Regions from separate parts of the Homo sapiens genome. Here regions 2 and 3 are each linked to region 1. The links are contacts of gene promoters, found by promoter capture Hi-C in blood cells and fetal thymus (Javierre and others, 2016). All regions are on one chromosome and are shown on one strand. Each heading gives the region's core, a stretch centred on a gene start or on the middle of the fragment in contact. The rest is flanking DNA. Distances are from core to core; before and after follow the strand shown.

Evidence for each region. Contacts are between HindIII fragments. The CHiCAGO score rates a contact against its expected background, and 5 or more counts as called.
Region 2: a fragment that was not itself captured here is called in contact with the fragment with the promoter of CELA1 in region 1 in 13 of 17 cell types (megakaryocytes, erythroblasts, naive B cells and 10 more); the score reaches 8.1 in megakaryocytes.
Region 3: a contact is called between the fragment with the promoter of CSRNP2 here and the fragment with the promoter of CELA1 in region 1, in 8 of 17 cell types (endothelial precursors, megakaryocytes, M1 macrophages and 5 more). The highest score is 11.1, in endothelial precursors.

What each region holds. Positions count from the first base shown.
Region 1 is chr12:51,344,738-51,348,571 of GRCh38, forward strand. CELA1 (chymotrypsin like elastase 1) reads right to left here and starts at 1,942. Exons shown (of 8, transcript NM_001971.6): 1 at 1,886-1,942; 2 at 1,058-1,140. The coding sequence starts at 1,901. The HindIII fragment of the contact is 4,543 bases long and covers 1-3,536 here.
Region 2 is chr12:51,064,391-51,068,224 of GRCh38, forward strand. CSRNP2 (cysteine and serine rich nuclear protein 2) reads right to left here. Exons shown (of 5, transcript NM_030809.3): 4 at 3,283-3,579; 5 at 1-279. It also overlaps a transcript of LETMD1 not described here. Among named protein-coding and RNA genes, the nearest start is that of CSRNP2, 17 kb to the right of the region's middle. The HindIII fragment of the contact is 5,071 bases long and covers 1-3,834 here.
Region 3 is chr12:51,081,849-51,085,682 of GRCh38, forward strand. CSRNP2 (cysteine and serine rich nuclear protein 2) reads right to left here and starts at 1,748. Exons shown (of 5, transcript NM_030809.3): 1 at 1,491-1,748. RefSeq lists a silencer at 1,310-1,799 and an enhancer at 2,173-2,799. The HindIII fragment of the contact is 4,493 bases long and covers 1-3,834 here.

The DNA of each region.
Region 1 (3,834 bases), core at 692-3,191:
ATCACCTAAGCCCAACAGGCTTAGGTCTCCAGAGCTGTACCTTTAGTGTTTTCAAGACATCTCCTGTCTCCCCACTTCAGGGACTACTTAGAAATACCAATGGGAGGCCAGGCGCTGTGGCTCATGCCTGTAATCCCAGCACTTTGGGAGGCTGAGGCGGGTGGATCACCTGAGGTCAGGAGTTTGAGACCAGCCTGGCCAACATGGTGAAACCCCGTCTCTACTAAAAATACAAAAATTAGCTGGGCATGGTGACAGGCGCCTGTAATCCCAGCTACTCAGGAGGCTGACGCAGGAGAACTGCTTGAACCCAGGAGGCAGAGTTTGCAGTGAGCCGAGATCATGCCATTGCACTCTAGCCTGGGCAATGAGAGCAAAACTCCATCTCAAAAAAAAAAAAATACCAATAGGATGTTTGTTTTTATCAGTTCATGTCTCTTCTTCTAGCACCTCATGTTATGTAATAGCTCTACTCCTGAAAACTGGGGCTCAGACTTTTATAAGCTAAAACTCTGATTGCAGTGATATCTTCTCAAAGTGTGGATCTTCATCAGTTAATTTGCCAGGTTTACATATTTAGATCACTTAAATCAGGGCCCAGCTGCCCTGTTAGCAAAGTGGAAACTCTAAATAGCCAACTAAGCAGCATGCTGTACGTGTGTGTGTGTGTGTGTGCGCGCACATGCGTGCAAGCATTGTGACACACACAGTGTGGAGTGGTGTGCGTGTGAGTTTCAAGGTATGTGGAGTCCAAGGTGACTGTCTGGCACCCAGTCTTTCTTGCGTGGCACAAGTGCTGTCGCTGAGAATATAAATGTATCTTGTGTTTGGGTGTGTGCCTTGAAGAGGGACTGTGGTTGGTGTATAAATCCCCTCCTCCAAGCCTTTTGCATTTAGAAAACCACCTAAGCCTGATCCCATCCATCTTTAAAATCGAGAACCTAGACAATTGGAGAGCTGCTTGTTGATAGGGACATGCACAAATACACATGATACCTTATGTCATGCACTGAGCTCTTATTTGGGTGGAAGTCTGGGGCTGGGAAGGAACACCCACCTGAGAGGGCCAGGAATTCCTCCCGGCCTCAGTCCCTCCGACTACGCGGGCATTGGTTTCCGGAAGGTCCTGGGTGCTGTGTCCTTTGTGGGGCAGAAGAAAAGTGAGTGATGACTAAGCATGGGGTCAGCCAGGGGTAGGGGTGGGGGGTGGCGATTGTGCTTTGAGGAATGTTAGCCTTGTCTGCAAATTCACAGTTCCTCTCTAACGAATGAGGGGCCCAGCTGTGAGTTCTCTGAGCCCCTTTTGAAAACAGGGGTGCCTGGGTGCCTTCTGTTTCCCCCAGGTGTTCCCAGAACTCCGGCATGCTATGAAGGACCTCTCTCAAACCACCAGGCTAGGCCCCAGAGGCTCCTTGTGGTCTCCTCTTTGCTCAAGATCACCCTTTGGCCTGAAGAGACCCCCCCCCACTCTTTGACCCCCACCAGCCCCCTAATGCTTTGGCAAGATTCTCCAGGGTTCAGGGCCTGCAGTGCACACCCCAGCCAGGCACCTGCTGAGGAAGTCCTCCTGTCAATGGGGGTGGTGGGGAAGCCCAGGGACCCACCCCACTACCAGATGGGGCTTCTCTCTGCTTTGTGGCCCAGGGACCTGCCACCCAGAGGGGCCTGAATAGCCAGTGGCCCTGACCTTTTCTATCTTGGCCTCCAGGAGAGTAAAGGACGCTCTGCAGGCAGAGCGTCCCACCTGCCCTGGGACAGGGTGCTGGCCTGGACTTAGGGAAAATTTGCTGACCTTCCTGCCCAAGTCCCCCTCCCTATAGACCTCAGGCCACATGATCCACTTACCATAAAGGACCAGGGTTGCGACTGGACCATATCCACTTACCATAAAGGACCAGCATGTTGCCGATGGAGTAGACCACTGCCTTCTTGCTTGGACCAAGCCCTCTTTATACTCCTCTTAGCAGCAAAGCTGACTGTCTTCTTGCCAACTGGCAGGGCTGAGGGTGCAAGGCAGGGAAAATCACAAGTGACATGGAAATACAAATGAAAATATTTCTTTTCAAGTAAACTAATGTATCTGTTATTCAAAGACAGAACAAGGCCAGGGCTGAATTAATCATCTGCTTTTAATTGAAAAGCATCCAACAAACTCTTTTTCAGAAATAAGATGGAGAACCAGGGCTGGTTTTTCTCTAAGGGAGCACCCCTTGTCATCCATCACTCTCTCGTTGTCCTCAGTGGCACCATAAATGCAGAGACTTGCCCTGTGCACTAGCAGCTGGAGGCCAGGGGGATAGTGGAAGAGGGGGGAGTGGTTAGCAAGGGCAAGGAAGACACAGCAACTCTCTCTGCCCAAAGAGGGAGATGGCACATGCCCCCAGGATGCAGGCATAGGTGTAAATGCAGACACAAAAGCCAAATAGATGCAGTGGAGATAATTCTGGGGGAGGAAAGTACTGAGAAACAGGCTTGGGCCCTCTCAGATGGAGAGCCAAGAAGGGGCTCCCAGAGGAGAATATGAGGCAGGGTAGAGGAGGGGATCCTTGGGATGTGAAGACAGTCTGAGGGCTATGAGGGTAGATGGAGGGTGGAGGGCAGAGGGAGAACGAGGGTAGGAGCCGAGGTTCCTGCAGGAGATGAAAGGCTTTGTTCATCACAGTTCGTAGAGGAGAGAGAAGGGAGTTGCGGCCGGGCGCGGTGGTTTACGCCTGTAATCCCAGCACTTTGGGAGGCTGAGGCGGGCGGATCACAAGATCAAGAGATCGAGACCATCCTGGCCAACATGGCGAAACCCCGTCTACTAAAAATACAAAAATTGGCCGGGCGCGGTGGCTCATGCCTGTAATCCCAGCACTTTGGGAGTCGGAGGCGGGCGGATCACGAGGTCAGGAGATTGAGACTACTCTGGCTAACACAGTGAAACCCCGTCTCTACTAAAAAAATACAAAAAATTAGCTGGGCGTGGTGGCAGGCGCCTGTAGTCCCAGCTCCTCGGGAGGCGCAGGCAGGAGAATGGCGTGAGCCCGGGAGGCGGAGCTTGCAGTGAGCCGAGATCGCGCCACTGCACTCCAACCTGGGCGACAGAGCGAGACTCCATCTAAAAAAAAACAAAAACAAAATACAAAAATTAGCTGGGCATGGTGGTGCGCTTCTGCAGTCCCAGCTAATCTGGAGGCTGAGGCAGGAGAATCGCTTCAACCTGGGAAGCGGAGGTTGCTGCACTCCAGCCTGGAGACAGAGCAAGACTCTGTCTCAAAATAAATAAATAAATAAATAAATAAATAAATAAATAAATAAATAAATAGAGAGAGAAAAGAGTTGCAATGTGCCTTGAGGTGGGCAGAGGACCCTTGGGTTGGCCACAAAATGATCAGAGCCACTGCAGGCTCCAGAGCAGAGGACTGTGGGTGCAGCAGTCATGGTAGCAACGCATGGGGTTTGGAATTAGGCAGGGAGAAGCCAGGAACCTAGACAGAAGCAGGACCATCACCTGCCCACCCAGGGCTTTTGTTGCCTAAACACTCCAGAATCCAAGCTTCATGGCTGCAGGGGTGGGAGAAACCTGGAAAATGCTCTTTGAAGGAATCTGCACAGTCACTTTTTCAGTGTCTAGAGCTGTTCAGAGGAGTTGCACTTTGATGCTCAGATAACCTGAAGAGCTTGCTCTCCAGCCTGCCCTCCAGCATTCTGGCACACTCAGGGAAGAGGGGTGAGCTGCGCTAGGGAACCCGGGGCCTCTTTGGTCATTCTCCTCCCGCTTCCCTGCTTCCTCTGGCCTCTAGCCCCAGGATGAGGAGTCCAAGAGGAGGCTTGAGGGCCTCCTGAAGGTTA
Region 2 (3,834 bases), core at 392-2,891, 280 kb before region 1:
ACTCTGCAGGTGCATCACTGCTGTCTCATTCTCAGCAATGAACTCCTGGAAGTCCTGGGTCTCAGAGCCCTGTGCTCCTGTCAGGCTGCAACTGGCAGTCGGGGAGGGCTCCTCATCTGGGGCTGCTGGGCGGCTCACCTGCCGCTTGCTCTCCAGCTCCAGCTTCATAATGGTGTGGAGGTAATGAGTCCGGACCCGGATTGGATTAAATTCAATGCGTCCTGCCATGTTCCCACAGCCATCCCGGGAGCAGCCACATGGAAAGGACATGCGATCCACCTGAGCGGGGACAAGAAGGTTGGGGCAAGATGAGACCTACAATCCTAACAATGGAGACAGGAGACATGAGCTGGCAAACAGGCAGTTGGGATTTGAGGTCTCCTTGTAAGAAGAAAAGCAACCAATTCAAAGCATAGCATGCAGTGTGAGCTAACAGAACACTAGATGGTAGTTATCAGACCACTTGCATTTCAATCCCAGCTCAGCCATTAATTAGTGGTGTGACCTCAAGAGAATCATTTATCTCTCTAGGGCTTTGTTTCCTCTTCTAAATAACAAGTAGACAAAATCACAGCACAGGGTCCTTCCAGTTAAGAGTCCAGAGATACTTCTCTGAATGCTGATAGTTTTCACAGAGGAAATTTACGAGCCTCAGAGACTTTTTCAGAACTTACCTGGTTCACTGAGACAACAAAAGGCTGGAACCAAGCCTATGGCCTGCAATGACAGGCATGGGAGAGTGAGTGGAAGATCTTGCTACTTCAAAAAAAATACATTCTGGGGAAACTAAGCAAATGTGCCTTAGTTTGCTAAGGTGCTAGAACGCAGGTTCACACAGTGGCCAATTTTTTAGCTACCTGCTTTATTTTCCCTGAGGGTTGACTAGTTTAGTTCTGAAGCAGTTACCAAGATAATTAACTTACAGACCAGGAATATCTGGAAAGGAGATGCTTTCTACCTCCTTATCACTTTCATATTCCAACAGGAAAAACACATAAACCAAAAATAAAAGGAAAAATTAAAACCACAAGTAAGCAAATAAGCATGTACAAATCACAATGTCTTTCTATGATACTGACTTATAGAAATCTCCACTCCAGTTATACCATTTTTTTTTCCTTTGGAGATAGGGTCTTGCTCTGTCGTCCAGGCTGGAGTGCAGTGGTGCCATCATGGCTCACTGCAGCCTGGAGCCATGCTGGGATTACAGGTGTGAGCCACCGCGCCCGGCCCTAATTTTAAAATTTTTTGTAGAGATGGGGTCTCGCTATGTTGCCCAGGCTGGCCTCAAACTCCTGGGCTCAAGCAGTCCTTCCACCCCAGCCTCCCAAAGTGCTAGTTACAGGTGTGAGCCAACATGCCAGGCCCAGCTGCATCAATTCTTAGGACTGTTCTCAGGTGTGTGTGTAACAGAATGACTCATTATGGGACTTTGGTCTGAAAAGCAGTATTTGGCCAGATATACCACAGTTATTTGTTACCCAGCTAAAAATAAAGAAAGAGTGAGTTAGGAGAAATCCAACCACAAGGACTCAGCATCTACACCCTCAATAATTAAGTTCCAGATAAATTTCATTCTTAGGGATGGTATTGCTGTTTTCAACTGAAATGTGTCTTAAACTGTCCCCCATCAGAGGGCCAACAAGGGGCCAGGCACGGTGGCTCATGCCTGTAATCCCAGTACTTCGGGAGGCTGAGGCAGGCAGATCACCTGAGGTCAGGCGTTTGAGACCTGCCCGGCCAACATGATGAAACCCTGTCTCTACTAAAAATACAAAAGCTGGCCAGGTGCGGTGGCTCACGCCTGTAATCCCAGCACTTTGGGAGGCTGAGGCAGGCGGATCACGAGGTCAAGAGATCGAGACCATCCTGGCCTACATGGTGAAACGCCGTCTCTACTAAAAATACAAAAATTAGCTGGGTGTGGTGGTGTGTGCCTATAGTCCCAGCTACTCGGGAGGCTGAGGCAGGAGAATTGCTTGAACCCGGGAGGCAGAGGTTGCAGCGAGCCGAGATCACGCGCTACGGCACTCCAGCCTGGCAACAGAGCAAGACTCCGTCTCAAAAAAAAAAAAAAAAAAGAATTACAACAATACAACAATTAGCCGGGCATAGTGGTGCACACCTGTAATCCCAGCTACTTGGGAGGCTGAGGCGGGAGAATCACTTGAACCCAGGAGGTGGAGGTAGCAGTGAGCCAAGATCGCGCCACTGCACTCCAGCCTGGGCGACAGAACGAGACTCCGTCTCAAAAAAAAAAAAGGGCAGCCAACAAGAGATGATACTTTCTCTTTCAGATAACTATGGTTTTAAGCTCTGCTAGGCCAGGTCTGATCCTGAATTATAAAGCTCTGAATACTATTTTGATTTTTTCAAAATTGGAGTAGAGGTACTGAACAATAAGTGTTTGCAGATAGAATCTACAGGCCCACACCATTCCTCTGCTAACTTTTTGAGACAGGGTCTTGCTCTGTCGCCCGGGCTGGAGTGCAGTGGCACAATCATAGCTTACTGCAACCTATGCCTCCCAGGCTCAAGTGATCCTCCTCCCATCTCAGCCTCTTGAGTACCTGGGACTACAGGCCCATGCTACCATGTCCAGCTAATTTTTGTATTTTTTGTAAAGATGGGGCTTAGCCATGTTGCCCAGGCTGGTCTCGAACTCCTGGGAAGCAATCTGCCTGCCTGCCTCGGCCTCCCAAAGTGCTGGGATTACAGATGTGAGCCACCATGCCCAGTCCTGCTTCCTTTTATCTCAAGGAATCAGTATTTAGGAAACAGTATTTAGGAAATACTGTTTAGGAATCAGTATTTAGGAAACATTTACTAAATGTTAAATGTACTAACTCCTCTTCATCCCTTTCCTAACAGCTGCTTCTTATCACCTCTGAGAAATGAAACAAAAAAAGATGAGATACCTCCACAGCCTAAGAATCCTGTCATGCTTGTTTTCTTTGCAAAAATTTTAAGAGACAGGGTCTCACTCTGTGACCCAGGCTGGCGTGCACTGGTGTGAACTCAGCTCACTGCAGCCTTGACCTCCTGGACTCAAGAGATCCTCCTACCTCAGCCTCCCACATAGCTAGGATTAGAGGTGTGAGCCACCATGCCTGGCCGTGTGCTGTTTGCTTACTCTGTTGACGGAGGAGGGTTGTGGAACTGGAGAGTGTTCACAACCATAGGGAATCCACCCCTGAATGGGCCTCCCATGTTCAGTGGCACCCACACCTCACCCCGCTGACCCTGGTGTAGATATACTATCTCAGGCCAACTTGGACTGACCTGGCATTTAATCCCAGCCTGGCTGCAGGCACACGCTTCTGGGTCACAATACAGTCGGCAGTCACAACCACATTCTTCCCGTGACAGGCGGATGGCTCGAAGTTCTTGCTTCTCTTCAGCATCAATACGGTGGACCCCAGAAGCCCTCAGCAGGGCCCGTCGCCGTTTGGTGGGCAGAGGCTGCAGGAAGAAGTAATCATCCACCTCCACATTTTCCACATCAATATCTTCATCTGACACATCATCCAGCGTCAGGCCATCAGCCTCCACCGACTCCACTGTCCCATTCTTGGTCAGCTGCCAAGAGACAGGAAAGGTTAGCCTCATAGACATGAGCGGCATGCACCTCCTCAGTGACCATCCCAGAGCAGCACTGTCCCTTGAACCTTCTGCAATCATGGGAATATCTGTGCTGTCCAAAATGATGGCAGCTACTAGCACATGTGGCTACTGAGCACTAGAAATGCAGCAATTGGAAAACTGTCATTTTATTTATTTTTTTGAGACAAAAGTCTCATTCTGTCGTCCAGGCGGGAGTGCAGTGGTGCAGTC
Region 3 (3,834 bases), core at 498-2,997, 260 kb before region 1:
CAAAAAAAAACAGCATATGTGAGAGCAGCAAGAGGGACTGCCCAGGCAAAATTTTCTGGAAGAATCTATTTGCAAAGTTTAGGTAATATAAGTCTCTTTCTTAAATGAGTCCAAAGTAATAAGCTACATCTCACAGGAGAAAGCCTCTTCACTTGACTGGAACCCAACCTTCTGCTAAAGGTCAAGGAATCAAAACCTCCAGTAAGATGGTCAGGGCTACCATCTGTAGCTGGGTTGGAAGGAAGGCTTGCTGCTGTGTTACCATAAACCTGAATAAAATGACCTGCCCTGTTTCTCCTTTTACAAGATACTGTGGTTGTTTCTCATATACCATGAATTTCATGGATCCATGTGTCTTTGTGATCACCAGGATCATGAACTTACAAAGCACCCAAGTGAAAACCCCCCGCTTAAGTTAGGTGTTTAAAGAAAGCCGTGCACTCACCACCCCCACTCCCCGATTTTTACCCATTCACTAACACAAGGTTAGAATTTTCCATGCCTAAACTACCATCGTGTGGAAGACAGATCTTTGTGGGAACTGGAACATGATGCTGCATTAACTCTCAAGGATATCCAGTCATTTATAACACCGGCACAACCAACATCCTGGCTTTGTGGATTTGCAAGACAGAAAGCCAGTGAAGAAAAAAATCTGAACTATGAATTTACCTTGAACTGAAAACTGCAGGACAAGGGGACAGTGTTGTCTTGTGGGGATAACTTCTAGCATTTCATTCTGAAGAACAGTTTGTGTGTCACACTGCCACTCTCAACCCCTTTAAAAGGATGAATCAAGACCACAGCACTAAAAGGGACGGGTGGCAGTTGGCTGCGTAATTGGGCCTATGAAAAAAGATCAAGCTAGCAACCAGGGCAATTGATGCTTTCATTTTCCCACACGACGCCAGAAATATGGGAGACATCAGGAACCGGAGCGAAGGGACATGTCAAGTCACCAGTTCCTTTTAATGAACACTCCTGCCGAACCCTTCAGCTCTCGGCCCACTTCCCTCTGATTCCTGCTAACCTTCCCGCTCATTCCAATCCTCTGCAGCCCCTACCCAGCCTTCCGCATCCCTTCCTGCCTGCTACTCACAAATTCCCAACCACTCCTCCCACATTTTCCTCTGTTCCCCCTCCCCTTCCTTCACTTTCCTCCATCCTACATCATTCTCCACTCCATTCCGAACTCAATCCTCATCTGCAATCCTGCAGGCTTCCAAGCCGCCCATCGGTCTCCCGCGAGCTGCCCCCGCAGTCCGGGCCAGCGTCCTCGGTGCCCCTCGCTCCCACGCCTCTTCCCGACTCGGTTCCTTCCCAACGGCACCCGACCTCCCCGCCCCCCGACCGCTCCCGTCCGAGCCTCTCATTTCTGACCCCTCCATCCGCACGGCTCTGGGCTTGACCACTCCTCCACGGCCGCCCGAGGGCCGATCCCGAGAAAGGACGAGGCGGCACCCTCCGCCCCGCACCCCTAGGCCCATTACCGGCCCCGCCGCAGCTGCCTCCTCCCGTGATGGTCTCTGCCGCCCCCGCTGCCGCCGCCGCCCTAGCCCGGTGGGAAGGAGGGAGGAGCGAGCGAGTCCCGGGCCCCGCGGCGACGGCCGGGGAGCTCCCAGGGCGGCAGGGCGGGGAGGGAGGGCGGTGGGCAGCCCAGCCGGCAGGCAGAGAGGGCCGGGCGTCTCCGGCAACTCGGGCGCCCCCGGCAGCAGACGCCCAGAACCGCCCCGGCTCCGGCTAACAATAGGATCCGGCCGCAGCGCACTGGCTCTTATAGGCGCCGGCACGTCCTGACCGAGACCCGGGGCTGGCTGGGAAATGGAGTCTACGGGCCGGCCCACACCCAGCAGCATGCCGGGAGTTGTAGGCGGTAACTGCTGCAAAGCCGAAGCCGGCGCGCAAACCGGCTCCCGAGGCGGCAGCTCTGCTGCAACCTTTTAATGGGGGAAGAGAGGAGACTCAGCTACAGATCTTAAATAAACGAATTCTCCTCCAAAGCTCCCTTTTTCTTTCGTGTCCTGACCACACGCCATTAGGAACATGATCCCCCCTTCTCCTCGCTCATGGGGTCTTAGTCTTCAGCAATATGACTTATTGCAGCCTGCGCAGGTTATAAAGAATACAAGCAATATCTTGAGTTATCTACTTATATGAGGGAGTGCTTTGAGTGTTTTCTTTAAAAAAAAAAAAATTGCTGCCGGGCGCGGTGGCTCACGCCTGTAATCCCAGCACTTTGGGAGGCCGAGGTGGGCGGATCACGAGGTCAGGAGATCGAGACCAACCTGGCTAACAAGGTGAAACCCCGTCTCTACTAAAAAATACAAAAATTAGCCGGGCGTGGTGGCGGGCGCCTGTAGTCCCAGCTACTCGGGAGGCTGAGGCAGGAGAATGGCGTGAACCCGGGAGGCGGAGCTTGCAGTGAGCCGAGATCGCGCCACTGCACTGCAGACTGGGCGAAAGAGCGAGACTCCGTCTCAAAAAAAAAAAAAAAAAAATCTTCTCAACTTTGCAAACTAATTTATTTATTTAAATAGAAAAGGGGTTTTCGCCATGTTGCCCCGGCTGGTCTTGCACTCCTGGGCCCAGGCGATCCGCCCGCCTCGGCCTCCCAAAGTGCTGGGATTATACGCATGAGCCACCGCGCCCTTCCGCAACCTATTTTTAAGAAAGGGCGCCAGGCGCGGTGGCTCATGCCTGTAATCCCAGCACTTTGGGAGGCCGAGGCGGGCGGGTCATGAGGTCAGGAGTTCGAGACCAGCCTGACCAACATGGTGAAACCCTGTCTCTACTAAAAATACAAAAATTAGCCGAGGGTGGTAGCACGTGCCTTTAATCCCAGCTCCTCGGGAGGCCGACCCAGGAGAATGGCTTGAACCCGGGAGGCGGAGGTTGCAGTGAGCCAAGACTGCACCATTGCCCTCCAGCACGGTCAACAAGAGCGAAACTCCGTCTCAAAAAAAAAAAGAAAAAGAAAAAGAAAAAAAAGGGGAAAACCAAGATTAAGAAGTCAAAAGTTGTATGTGATTTGCCAAGGACACATAGCCTTGGTTTCTTCTTTGTTGTCTTTCCCTTGAACTATAAGGCTCGGCAAGCTCGAGCTGCATTCTCTTGTCCCCCGACCCCCACCCCGCCCCCTCATTTTGTTCTGTCATCTTGTTTGCTTCTACTTTCCCCCTTCCATACTCTGCTTGAATACACTGGCCTCATTGCAGCTCCTTCAACTGGGCAATCATTCTCTTACCTCAGGGCCTTTTGTCTGGCTTCCACCAGCTAGCCACATACTTACTCCCTCACATAATATCTGCTCGAATGTCCCCATATCCGAGATCTTCCCTAACCATATTTCTTTTTCCCTGCATTAAGAGACAGGATTTCACTCTGTCACCCAGGCTGGAGTGCAGTGGCGCAATCACGGCTCACAGCAGCCTCAAACTCCCGGGCACAAATGCCTAACCATATTTCTAAAATGGTGCTTCTCCTTAGTTTCTATCCCTGTGCCTTATATTTCTTCTTAGCATCCACGTATTTGTTTTTGTCTTGTCTCACTTGACTAAATTCGGTGAGAGCAAGGAATTGTTTTGTTTACTGTATCCTCAACACACAGTACAAAGCCTAGTAGTTGACATTTAAGAGTATGATAGATATTTATTGGATAGATGGATGGACAGCAGGATTTAAACTCACGTTAGGCTGGTTCCAAAACCTGGTACATTTTTCACTGCAACCAAGAAACTATGAAGCCAGATCCACTAGCTACCAAGCCATCTCAGCTTTAGAAGTGAGAGGCTGGATGGCTTGGGAAAACATGCTAAGAATTTCAGTTCTCTCCCC